Linked DNA regions of Homo sapiens: region 1 is linked to region 2. The links are contacts of gene promoters, found by promoter capture Hi-C in blood cells and fetal thymus (Javierre and others, 2016). All regions are on one chromosome and are shown on one strand. Each heading gives the region's core, a stretch centred on a gene start or on the middle of the fragment in contact. The rest is flanking DNA. Distances are from core to core; before and after follow the strand shown.

Region 1 (5,735 bases), core at 714-3,213, 1.1 Mb before region 2:
TGGGTCTTCCTTTCCCCAGGTTTGGCGCTGCACCTCTGTCTCTGGGAAGCAATTATCCCCCGTCTCCCAGGTGCCTTAAACTCAGCATCAGTCATTTTTCCTTGATTGTTCACATCTATTCTCCGTTTTAAATGTGGGCACAAAAGCCCTGGAGTCACTTAAGCTTGAAACCTGAGAGACTTTCTCAGTCCACCCTGCCCCCACACCTCTATCCTCTACGTCTAAGTGGTCACCGATCTTGTTACTGATTTTTCATGGTCACCCTCTCACTGGTCCTGGCACGTGGCCCAGCTTTATGCCTCCTTCCCCTTTTCTTGCCTTCCTCGACAGCTTCCATGTTCTAACCTGTGGCTTTGCTCACCTGTTTGCATCCTGCTGGACTGTGCTTCCCTCCCCCACTGTTTTCCCTTTAACCAGTGAACTTTAAGACTTTAAGACTCACATCAGGCCTCACCTTTTATTTGAAAGGAATCAGGAATTACTTAATTGTTTTCAGAATCTGATTTGCTCTTGCATTTTCCATCTTCCTAGATTACACCCCTCTCTCTCCACCTGTCCCAGTTGGAAAGTCTTGAATCATTTCCCCTCATTCCAGATGGTGTCAGTTACCAGATATTGACATACTACTGAATTTTGGTTATTCTTTTTTGTTTCCATCATTACCTTCCAGGTGTAAGCCCACCTGCTTTTTGTGTAAGCCAGTGCATTTATCTCTTAGAGAATCTTTCCTCCTCTTTCTCCAGCTTCCATGTTGTCTTTAGGGTTACCCTCAGATTCATCTGTCTAAAGTGCTTTGTTCAAAACCTTCTCCGGACCCGTGTCCTGCAGAGAAATGTTCACTTTAGCATGGCATTTGGAGCTATTTACAATCTGATCTTAATTTATCACCTTAGCAACAGGTGCTCTCAGTCCCCAGACACCCTGCCTCAGAGCTGTGCCATCCAGTCTCACGCCTTTAGTCTATGGCCATATTGTTCTTGACTGAGGTCTTCTTCCCTGGTTGTTGAAATCTTACCTACCTTTTATGAGCTAATTTAAATGGAACTACCGGCCAGGCATGGTGGCTCATGCCTGTAATCCCAACACTTCGGGAGGCTGGAGATGGAGTCTAATACAAGAAACTGTCCCATATGCTCTTCAGAATCCTGAAGTTTACCTTGGTTCCCTTTAAAGTCTTTTTTTATGATTGATGAGTCATTTCAGCATTGTGCTGAATTCAAAGGCCCTCAATAAAAGATACAATCAAATATGGATGGGTCACCTGAGCCCAGGAGTTGGAGACCAGCCTGGGCAGCATGGCAAAACCCCAACTCTGCTAAAATACAAAAACTAACCAGGTGTGGTGGTGGGCGCCTGTAATCTCAGCTACTTGGGAGGCTGAGATGACAGAATCGTTTGAGCCCTGGAGGTCGAGGCTGCAGTGAGCCATGATAGCACCGCTGCACTCCAGCCTGGTGTTTAAAAAAAAAAAAAATTAAAACTACCATGTATAGAGCCTCCAGATTCCCCTAGTGAGAACAGAGTGCATTTTCCTTTGCAGCCTCCATCTCTTGCTACAGAATAAATACTTCTATTTTGCTATGTATCACAGTCTGGCCAGCATTATGGATATTTAGTTATCTATTTTCTTCTGGATGCCTTAGAGATGTGTTTTACTGCTGTTTGTGTGCCTCACTACTGAGTCCATTGTAAGCCATGGGAGATCCTGTATTTTAAATTGATATTTTGAAAAGAGAGTTCTTTATGTTTGGTTGGTGTTCCTTTTTTAAACTTCACTATCATCATTTCTAAAATCTCTATTAACATTATCAACACACACTGATTATCTTTTGCCTTTTTACAAATGTAATACAGCAAAACACTCAATACTTTGAAAACATTTTGAATTCATGTAAGTATGACTGAAAAATGTTTCCGAAATGTTGATTTGAAAACAATTGCTTGATGGATTTCAACTTTATGTTTCAAACTAGGGCCTATGTAGACTAAGCTGGAATTAAGCACCACACAGTTTCTCTGGATTTGGCCAAGCATGGCTCCCACCCAAGGGAGTTCACCTTGTTTTTCATTTACAGTGACCTCTGATGCTCAGGGAATGGATCAGTAGAAAAGAATAGCCTAAAACATATCTTGCTACAGAATAAATGAATGTCAGATGAAATGCACACACACATATGTGTGTATATTATATTTATATATATACACATATATATGAATCTGAACATGCGGACAGCAGATGATTTTTAGATGTGACTAACATACTCATTATGTCTTTAGAGCAAAATCCTCCACCAGGCTTATTGTCCTGAAGTTGAAATACAATAAGTTCACTGTCCAGTATGCTCCTCAGAATCCTGAAGTTTAGCTTGGATCCCTTTGAAGTCTTTTATTATGATTGATGAATCATTTCAGCATTGTGCTAAATTCAAAGGCCCTTAATAAAAGATAAAATCAAATGACTTACCAATCAAGAATACCACAAAAGACTGGAAATCAGGTGAAAATGTGGCATGAGCAGTAATACTAAACTTAAAGGCCTGTATCAATCACTATACATTTCCAAAAAGTTTGGAAACATTTAAAACTTTGAAAAGGTGCACATGACTGATTGCAGAAACTATCTGGGAAATATTTGAGTGCTGTTTGTGATAGAAATAAATTCCCGTTTGATACCCTTCTCCAGTAAATGTTTTATAATAGAGTTTGGCATCACAGAGCATGGGTGGAGAAAGATCTGTACCTTCCTGTTTGACAGCAGAGAGTCCCAGGAGGTGGCTGGGCTTTGGTCCCTGTGTCTGCGTCAGCCCCTGATGGGACAAAACTTGCTTTTTTTTTCTTCTATGAGACGGAGTTTCGCTCCTGTTCCCAGGCTGGAGTGCAGTGGCATGATCTTGGCTTACTGCAACCTCCACCTCCAGGTTCAAGCAATTCTCTTGCCTCAGCCTCCTGAGTAGCTGGGATTACAGGCGCCTGCCACCATGCCTGTCTAATTTTTTGTATTTTCAGTAGAGACAGGGTTTCACCATATTGGCCAGGCTGGTCTTGAACTCCTGGCCTCAGGTGATCTGCCCACCTCGGCCTTCCGAAGTGCTGGGATTACAGGCGTGAGCCACCACACCGGGTCAGCTTGCCCTTTTTTAGAGAGGCTGGTATTATGTTTAGATGGAAAGGGTAATTTTGACTTAGATTAAGAAGACTTAGATTATTACCCACAGGCTAAGATTTTGGTGTTCTTGGCAAGGACTGTTGAGGATATGACTTACCCTGTATTCCACTCTCAATACTGCAAGATGGCTGGGCACAAGACTGAAATGCTAACACCTCCGGGAGGGGGATTAATAAATTCCCGATGAAACCTACAACAGAAGAACTACCTTGTCCTCTATTTGTGAGAAAAGAGGAAGTCAGTGGGTGACCATGATTTTTCCCGGGAGAGCAAACAGACTGAGGTCTCCAGACCACCCTGGCAAGCATCCAGATCATACCAGGGAGGCAGCACATTCAAAAGAGGTTTTCAAAATGAAGATCAGCATCTGATCATTTTGTTCTCCAATTTTTTAAAACGAGGAATAATCAGCACATGATGTGTTAGGACAGCATATTAGTCAGGGTTCTCTAGAGGGACAGAACTAATAGGATAGATGTATATAGAGAGGAGAGTTTATTAAGGTGTGTTGACTCACACAGTCACAAGGGTGAGGTCCCACAATAGGCCATCTGCAAGCTGAGGAGAAAGGAAGCCAGTCCAAGTCTTAAAGCTTAAGAACTTGGAGTCCAGTGTTTGAGGGCAGGAAGCATCCAGCATGGGAGAAAGACGGAGGCCAGAAGACTAAACCAGTCTAGTCTTTCCATGTTCTTCTGCCTTTTATTCTGGCCGTGCTGGCAGCTGATTAGATGGTGCCTACCCAGATTGGGGGTGGGTCTGACTTTCCCAGTCCAGTGACTCAAATGTTAATCTGCTTTGGCAACACCCTCACAGGCACACCCAGAACAATACTTTGCATCCTTCAATCCAATTAAGTTGACGCTCAGTATTCACCATCACAGACAGCTCTTTGGCCCAGTGCTGCCATTACCCTGTAGACTTGTTGCAGTTTGTTATGCCCTGGATCAGATATCTTCACTGACCCTCGTTTCTGTTTAGGGGGCAATCCATCATCCTTAGCTGGCATCCAGGACCACCTAAAAACCAACCCAAACGTTTCTCTTACAGGCTCATGTCTCCTAGTCCTTGGCATTAATTCTTAATCTAAGTCAAAATGACACTTTCGAGGACCTTTAACCTGCCTGTCTCTGTACCTTTGCTAATGCCACTTACTGACCCCCAGAATGTTTTGTCTTCTTTGTTCCCATCCAATAGAAACTTCACGTAGAGTCAGAGACCCACTCACATCTCACACCTCCAGGAAAGCTTCCTAGACCATCCAAGATAATGTCACCATTTCATCTTCTTACCTCTAGAGTGCCCCCTGCTTTGACATTCTTGTACCATTTGGTCCATGCTGTCTTGTGTTGTCACCCTGTATATATGTGTTGGAAACCCTGGGCTGCTGAAAGGTTTTAGAAAATAAGAGACGCTCCCCTCCCCTTTTCTATTGGTCAGCACTTGGCATAATGCCTGCATAGGTAGCAGCTGCCCAGCATATTTCGTGGGGCACACTGGGTCAGTAGTTCACAGATAGACCCATTCATTCATTTCTTCCTTGAATACCTGCTCTGATAAGCTCTGTGCTTGTTCCTGGAAATATAGCCATGAGCAATAAAGTCATGGTATCTGTCTTCACGGAGCTTATAACCCCAAGGGGAAAACAAATAATCCCACAAATAACAATGATAATACTCATTGGGGCTCACCTGTACTGAAGGCCCCCTCTGTGCCAGCCCCTGTGCTAAATACTTTCCTCATATTATTTCATGTTATTCTCAGTACAACCCTGGGGGTAAGCACGATGACCACCTTCTTACAGATGAGGGGATGGAAACTTAGTGAGTCTCTTAGGTTAACTTGTCCCAAGGAGCCTGGCTAGTGAGTGGGATGGTGGGAGGTTGACCCAGTCTGTCTGGCTCCAGGGTCTGTGTTTTTTTAACCATCACATGATTTCAGTAATTACCAATATTACAGTGATGACAAATACCACAAACACCATATGTGCTGGTTTCCTATTGCTGTATAACAAATTACCACAAACTTAGTGGCTTAAAACAACACCGATTTCTTTTCTTACATTTCTGTGAGTCAGATCCGCCATAGATCTCACCAGGCTAACACCAAGCTGTTGCCATGACTGTGTTCCTTCTAGAGGCTCTGGGGGGATATCCATGTCCTTGACATTCCCCCCTTCTGGAGCCACCCACATTCCTTGACTCATGGCCCCTTCCTCCATCTGCAAAGCCAGTAATGTCACTTCTCTGATCCGTCCTCTGTCTTCTGTCCTCCCATCACCTTCTGATTGCAGGTGAGGAAGGTACTCTGCTTTTAAGGACTCTTTTGATGACACTGGGCCCACCTGGATAACCCAGAGTATGCTCCCCATCTCAAGACTCTTAGCTGAATCACATCTGCACTCCTTTATCTCATGTAAAGTAACATATCCATAGGTTTTAAGGATCAGGGCGTGGACATCATTGGGGGTCATTCCGCCTACCTTGTCCCGAGAAGGTGTAACAAGGGGAGTGGTCTAGAGAGGTGGGGGGTTCAGGCTTCCTAGGATGAAAGGACATTGAGGGTGGTGGAG
Region 2 (5,478 bases), core at 1,123-3,622:
AAGACACACCATTGGCAGAGCACTGTGCTCAGCGCCTTTTAGACTTTCACGTGGAGTAATATCACGTCGAGGTCTTGCCGTTGAGGTTGTCGTAATGCAGCTACAGGAGTTGTGTGGGCTCTTTAAAAATGACATGAAGCAGGGCACAGTGGCTTACGCCTATAACCCAGCACATAGGGAGGCCAAGGCAGGCAGATCACTTGAGGTCAGGAGTTCGAGACCAACTGGCCAACATGGTGAAACAGCGTCTCCACTAAAAATACGAAAAGTATCTGGGTGCGGTGGTGGGTGCCTGTAACGTCAACTACTCAAGGGGCTGTGGCAGGAGAATCACTTGAACCCAGGAGGCGGAGGTTGCAGTGAGCCGAGATCATGCCACTGCACTCCAGCCTGGGTGACAGAGTGAGACTCTCTCTCTGAAAAAAAAAAAAAAAAATGACATGAAACTGACTCATCAGAGCTCCATCAGGCCACGGGCTACAAATGTGGCTGGGCCACGTAGACAGAAAGACACACGGCCCTGGTGTAGGAGAGGAAAACACACTGTTTTCAGGGAGGTGGAATTAGGGGTTTCCCTGTCCCTTCTCTCTCAAAGCCTTTTCCAATGAATCTAGAATTTTTAGTTTCTTAATAATGTTCCTGTTGCTCTTCCATCTGGATGCAAAGGAGATCTATTCACGACATCTCCAAGAATGAACTCCATAAGAGCAGCAGAGTGGTCAAGGCCTACTTTCCCAGGGGTTCATTTTCTTTTTGCCTTTTTTTTTTTTTTTGAGACAGAGTTTCACTCTTGTTGCCCAGGCTGGAGTGCAGTGGCACAATCTTAGCTCACTGCAACCTCTGCCTCCTGGGTTCAAGGAATTATCCTGCCTCAGCCTCCCAAGTAGCTGGGATTACAGGTATCCACCACCATGCCCGGCAATTTTTTTTTTTTTTAAGTAGAGACAGAGTTTCACCATGTTGGCCAGGCTGGCCTTGAACTCCTGACCTCAGGTGATCCACTCGCCTCGGCCTCCCAAAGTGCTGGGATCACAGGCGTGAGCCACCGTGCCCGACCAAGGTTCATTTTCAATGCTGTTGACACGAAGGCTAAGATCACAGGGGAGGTCACAATTTTAGGATCTCAGCTTTTAGAATGCTGTCTTTTTAACCCCTTCAGCATTTCCATCTTATTGGAAAAGGGCAGGCAGGAGGGCAGATGGGAGGGAGGGAGGCAGTTGGGCTTTCTTCCTGTCCAGGGGCCAGCTCTGCCTTCCTGGTCCTCACTCCCAGCCCCACTCCTTCCTTCCCCTGTTCTGTGCCTCTCCTATCTACTCCTTCCACATCCCTAGCCACCTCACAGGCTCTTCATGGGGCTCAAGTGAGATAATGCAGGGTGTGAAATTCTTTGTCAATGAACGCATCAACTCTACGTTCCATTTGCTGTCATTATCTCCTGTATCTTTGTTCCACTTGTGCAGGTGATTTGTCCCCCCGCCAGTCCCCGTCCCCTCACCCCCAGTTTCATGGATAAGGACCAGCTGTAGACTCTGCCAGGCCCTGGGCAGTGTTGGTATCGTGCTTGGAGGTGCTGCTCAGTTATGCAACCCACCCTCCTCCCCCAGCCAGAGCCACAAAGCCACTAGGGCACTGTACCAGTTTGTTTATTTATTTATTTTTGAGATGGAGTCTCCCTCTGTCACCCAGGCTGGAGTACAGTGGCACGACCTTGGCTCACCACAACATCCGCCTCCCAGGTTCAAGCGATTCTCCTGCCTCAGCCTCCCGAGTAGCTGGGATTACAGGCGCATGATGTCACGCCTGGCTAATTTTTGTATTTTCAGTAGAGTCGGGGTTTTACCATGTTGGTCAGGCTGGTCTCAAACTCCTGACCTCAGGTGATCCACCTGCCTTGGCCTCCCAAAGTGCTGGGATTACAGGTGTGAGCCTCTGCTCCCAGCCCCACCGTGTTTAGCTTGGTTAGGCACAGAGCCTTGCATGAACCAGCACCTCGGGGACCCCATGACGAGGTCAGAGCGGGTGAGAGGCACGCACCAGTGTGACTGAGCCACTCGCTGGGACTCTGGGGGCAGCGTGGTGGGGCTTGAGATCAAGGAAGTGCCTGCAAGTGGATTCAACGATGAGACACTTCCCCGGCCCACAGGGTGGAGGGGTTGGCTGGAGGGGTTGCCTGTACTTACCAGAGACGGTCCCCGAGCGAGCTTGATAAGCTGAAAGAGACGCTCAGGAGAGCCCTGACAGAGCTCCCCAGGCTGGAAAGGACAGAACTCCCCACCGGAACTTTCATTTTCAAAGTTCAGCACCTCAGTTAAGTAATTAATAGGTCTGGTCACGTTCACAGCTCTCCAAAAGAGACTGATGGAGCTCTGCTTTTCCTCCGGAAGTGCTTTCATGGCAAGCCCAGAGAAGCCCCCTAGGAGGCAGCCTGTCATCCAATAATCACTTCCTCTCTCAGGCCCAAATTCCAAATCAGCTCAGCAATGGGCAGGGCGGCCCTGAGCCACGTCCAGAGGTTGGGATTTGCTGACTCCTGGAGGATATTCTGAGTATAGCAAGTAAGTGAACTCGCACAAACAATGCGTTCAGCAATGGGAAGAAAACAGCTGTTTTTGTCCGAGAAGTGTCTGGCATACCCAAGACTTCTTAAAGAGAGGAAAATATTAACCTAGAGCATAACAACCCCTTTCTCTTTTCAGTCAAAACCTAGACAGACTGTGTTGATATTAAGTTAACAAGTTCCATGGGCTAATACCTTCCGAATGAAATGAGAGGGTTCTTAAATTAATAGATGAAAACTCCCCTTCATACATCAGAGAACTAAGGAAAGGTAATTGCCCCCAATATTTATTTTCGATTTGGAAAATCCAAAGCAAGAAGGCTTTGAAGAAGTCAAGATCTGATTATAATTCTAGGCTCGGTGCCAATGGGATAAATTATCTGGCAACTTTTTTTGCACAGTTATTGATTCTATTTGTCTCTGACGCCAAGCGCCCAGCATGGCACAAAGCCTCACAAAGTGCTCCGAAAAGGGTGTCATCCCCACACCGTTGATAAGGCTCAGAGTCTCTCCACGGCCATAATGCAACCCCCTCCTCCCCAGGGGGCTGTTGGCACCTCAACCCACTAAGGGATCAGGAAGTAGAGTTTGCCAGTGAGGAGCCTGGAGACTTCAAGCCTGTTTGGCCTTGGTGTTCTTGTGATTTAGTGCCCTGGACTGGCAGGTCTAGGGACTTTTTGCTCTAGACAAACTTTTTAAATAGGCCAGGTGCAGTGGCTCAAACCTGTAATCCCAGTGCTCTGGGAGGCTGAGGTGGGAGGGTTGCTTGATCCCAGGAGTTTGAGGCTGCAGTCAGCCATAATCACACCACTGCAGCCCAGCCTGGGAGACAGAAGAAGACCTTGTTTCAAAAAAAATTTTTTTAATAAATATAAATTTAAAAAATAAAAAATCCCAACACATGCACACACATACATGCACACACATACATGCACACACACACATGCACACACATACATATATATGCATGTGCAAAAGGTATGCCCAAGCTATACTCTCTTTATTTGAGTTTTAATTTACAGAAGTTTTCAACCTGGCCAGGCCTGGAATCATGGAGAATGGGCTGGGAATGGGTCTGCAGAGGTTCCCAAGGACATGTTTGAAAAGCATCCTCCACCTGGGAGAGCTGGGTCAGAATTAGCACACTCTAGGAGAGTTGGGGAACAGCTAAGAGCGGGGCACACCAGCTCGACTAACTGAGCCTGAGCCAGTGGGAAAGTCCTCATAGCAGTGGTCACTGGAGCACGAAACAGGGACATGGCTGGCTGGGGCTCCTTCCTCCGCCCCTCCCCAAGCACAGGTGGGCATGCCGTGGTGGGGCTGGGAAAAGGCCTATGGCCAGGGAAGCGCAGGATGACAACAAAGGAATGGTCAAGGCCTAACAAACAGAAACAGCGATGCAAATTGCCTAGGAGATGGAGCGGCAGTCACTGGAGCTGGCGTTGCCCAGACTTTGGTTGGCTTCAGGGTGACAGTTCAAGAAGGCAGCTCCTCCTGTGGGCCAGTGAGCTTGCTCCAAGAGCAGCCCTTTCCAGCTGACGCCCAGAGTGACCCAAAGGCTCTCCCGGAAAGTCCGGTTCTAAGACGATACAGCTGCCCGTCATGGAGCAACCTGCCCAAAACCACAGGGGGAAAAAAATCCAATAACCAAATCCCGGTGACCACACCCTGTCTGCAGTTACTCAGAACTCACTGGCCAAGGTCCAGGGAGCAGACCGAGTCAGGCTGAAGTCTATCCACATTTAATTTTCAATTGAAAATGGAAACAAGTCAAGCCAAGACAAACCCAGGGCCTGATTTAACAGCATCTACTGCCATGGCAAAGACATTGTCATGTGGGGTGCCACAGATCAGCCACCACCACCCCAGGGAAAGGTTGACACCACCACATCCAGACACTTTTCACTCACCTTTCATATAGAAGCTCATCCACTGCATAGCAGCTCAATGGTATTGTTACTGTTATGTTCTTTTTACAGGTGAGAAAACTGAGGCACAGGTTAAGTGACTCACTAAGCTCTCACTGTAAATGGTGGGGCAGGTTTGAACCCATGTGTCTGGCTCTTTGGTTCTACATGCGTTAATTCTGATTATAGTGAACGTCTGAATGGCTAGAAATATTTGGAGATTGTGCCCGGATGACAGCTGCAGAGAAGTGACCGTGGCTGACCCTGGACAGCAGTGCTTGGTCTTGCTGGGAATCGTCAGGTCCTCTGCCAGGCTTTCCTGGGGAGCACCAGGTGAAGTATCATGGATTTGAGGTCCTCTGTACTGGAGGCAGGACGCAGACACCAAGAACACCTCCAGGCAGGTGCTGATTCGCCGGCGGAACATTTGCAATGTGCTCACCCCTGTTGTGGGTAGGGGATGTGGGAATATTTGCACTATTGGGTTATACAGGGCTCAGAGGGGAAGGCATCGTGGAAAAGGATTTGGCTTGAGGAAGGAACACAGGAGACATGGCCATGCCATAAGAAGGAAGATGCCTCCCTTTAGATCAGGATTTGACATCAGAAAAGAAGAGATCACTCCAGTGAAGGGCCAGGAGACCTGCCTCCCAGGGCAGAGAACTCCCCGCTCCAGCCCCTCCTGGGGGGACCCTCTCCAGCTGCAGACCCCATGGTGGGTGATCAGGGATGTGATACCTTAGATGGGTCCCACATCCCCTTCAGACGCTAATGGTGTTTGGCTTTAGCCGACAATGCTCCTCCAGGGTGTGGCCTCATTTCCAATGTCCAGCGTCCTGGAGTCTCGAGGTAGAACCTTGAGGACTACCCTTGTTGCCCAATCTCATGTTTCCCTCTAAGGGAAAGGCTCATGTCCCCACTGCCAGGCAGCCTCTGACACAGGGGACTCTTGTAAGCAAGTCAACACACAGCATGGATGTGTGGAGGGACTCAGAGGTCTCTTGGTTGTGTCCC

Evidence for each region. The method cuts DNA at HindIII sites, captures the fragments that hold promoters and counts their contacts. A CHiCAGO score of 5 or more calls a contact.
Region 1: a contact is called between a fragment that was not itself captured here and the fragment with the promoter of LINC01426 in region 2, in 8 of 17 cell types (monocytes, total B cells, naive CD8 T cells and 5 more). The highest score is 7.3, in monocytes.

What each region holds. Positions count from the first base shown.
Region 1 is chr21:35,823,823-35,829,557 of GRCh38, reverse strand. No RefSeq gene overlaps it. Among named protein-coding and RNA genes, the nearest start is that of MIR802, 110 kb to the right of the region's middle. The HindIII fragment of the contact is 3,595 bases long and covers 166-3,760 here.
Region 2 is chr21:34,742,719-34,748,196 of GRCh38, reverse strand. It overlaps LINC01426 (long intergenic non-protein coding RNA 1426), which reads right to left and starts at 2,372. Exons shown (of 3, transcript NR_038885.1): 1 at 2,181-2,372. LOC107985515 (a long non-coding RNA gene) reads right to left here. Exons shown (of 3, transcript XR_001755016.1): 3 at 4,259-5,478. RefSeq lists enhancers at 991-1,285, 1,492-1,991, 1,992-2,493. The HindIII fragment of the contact is 11,220 bases long and covers 1-5,478 here.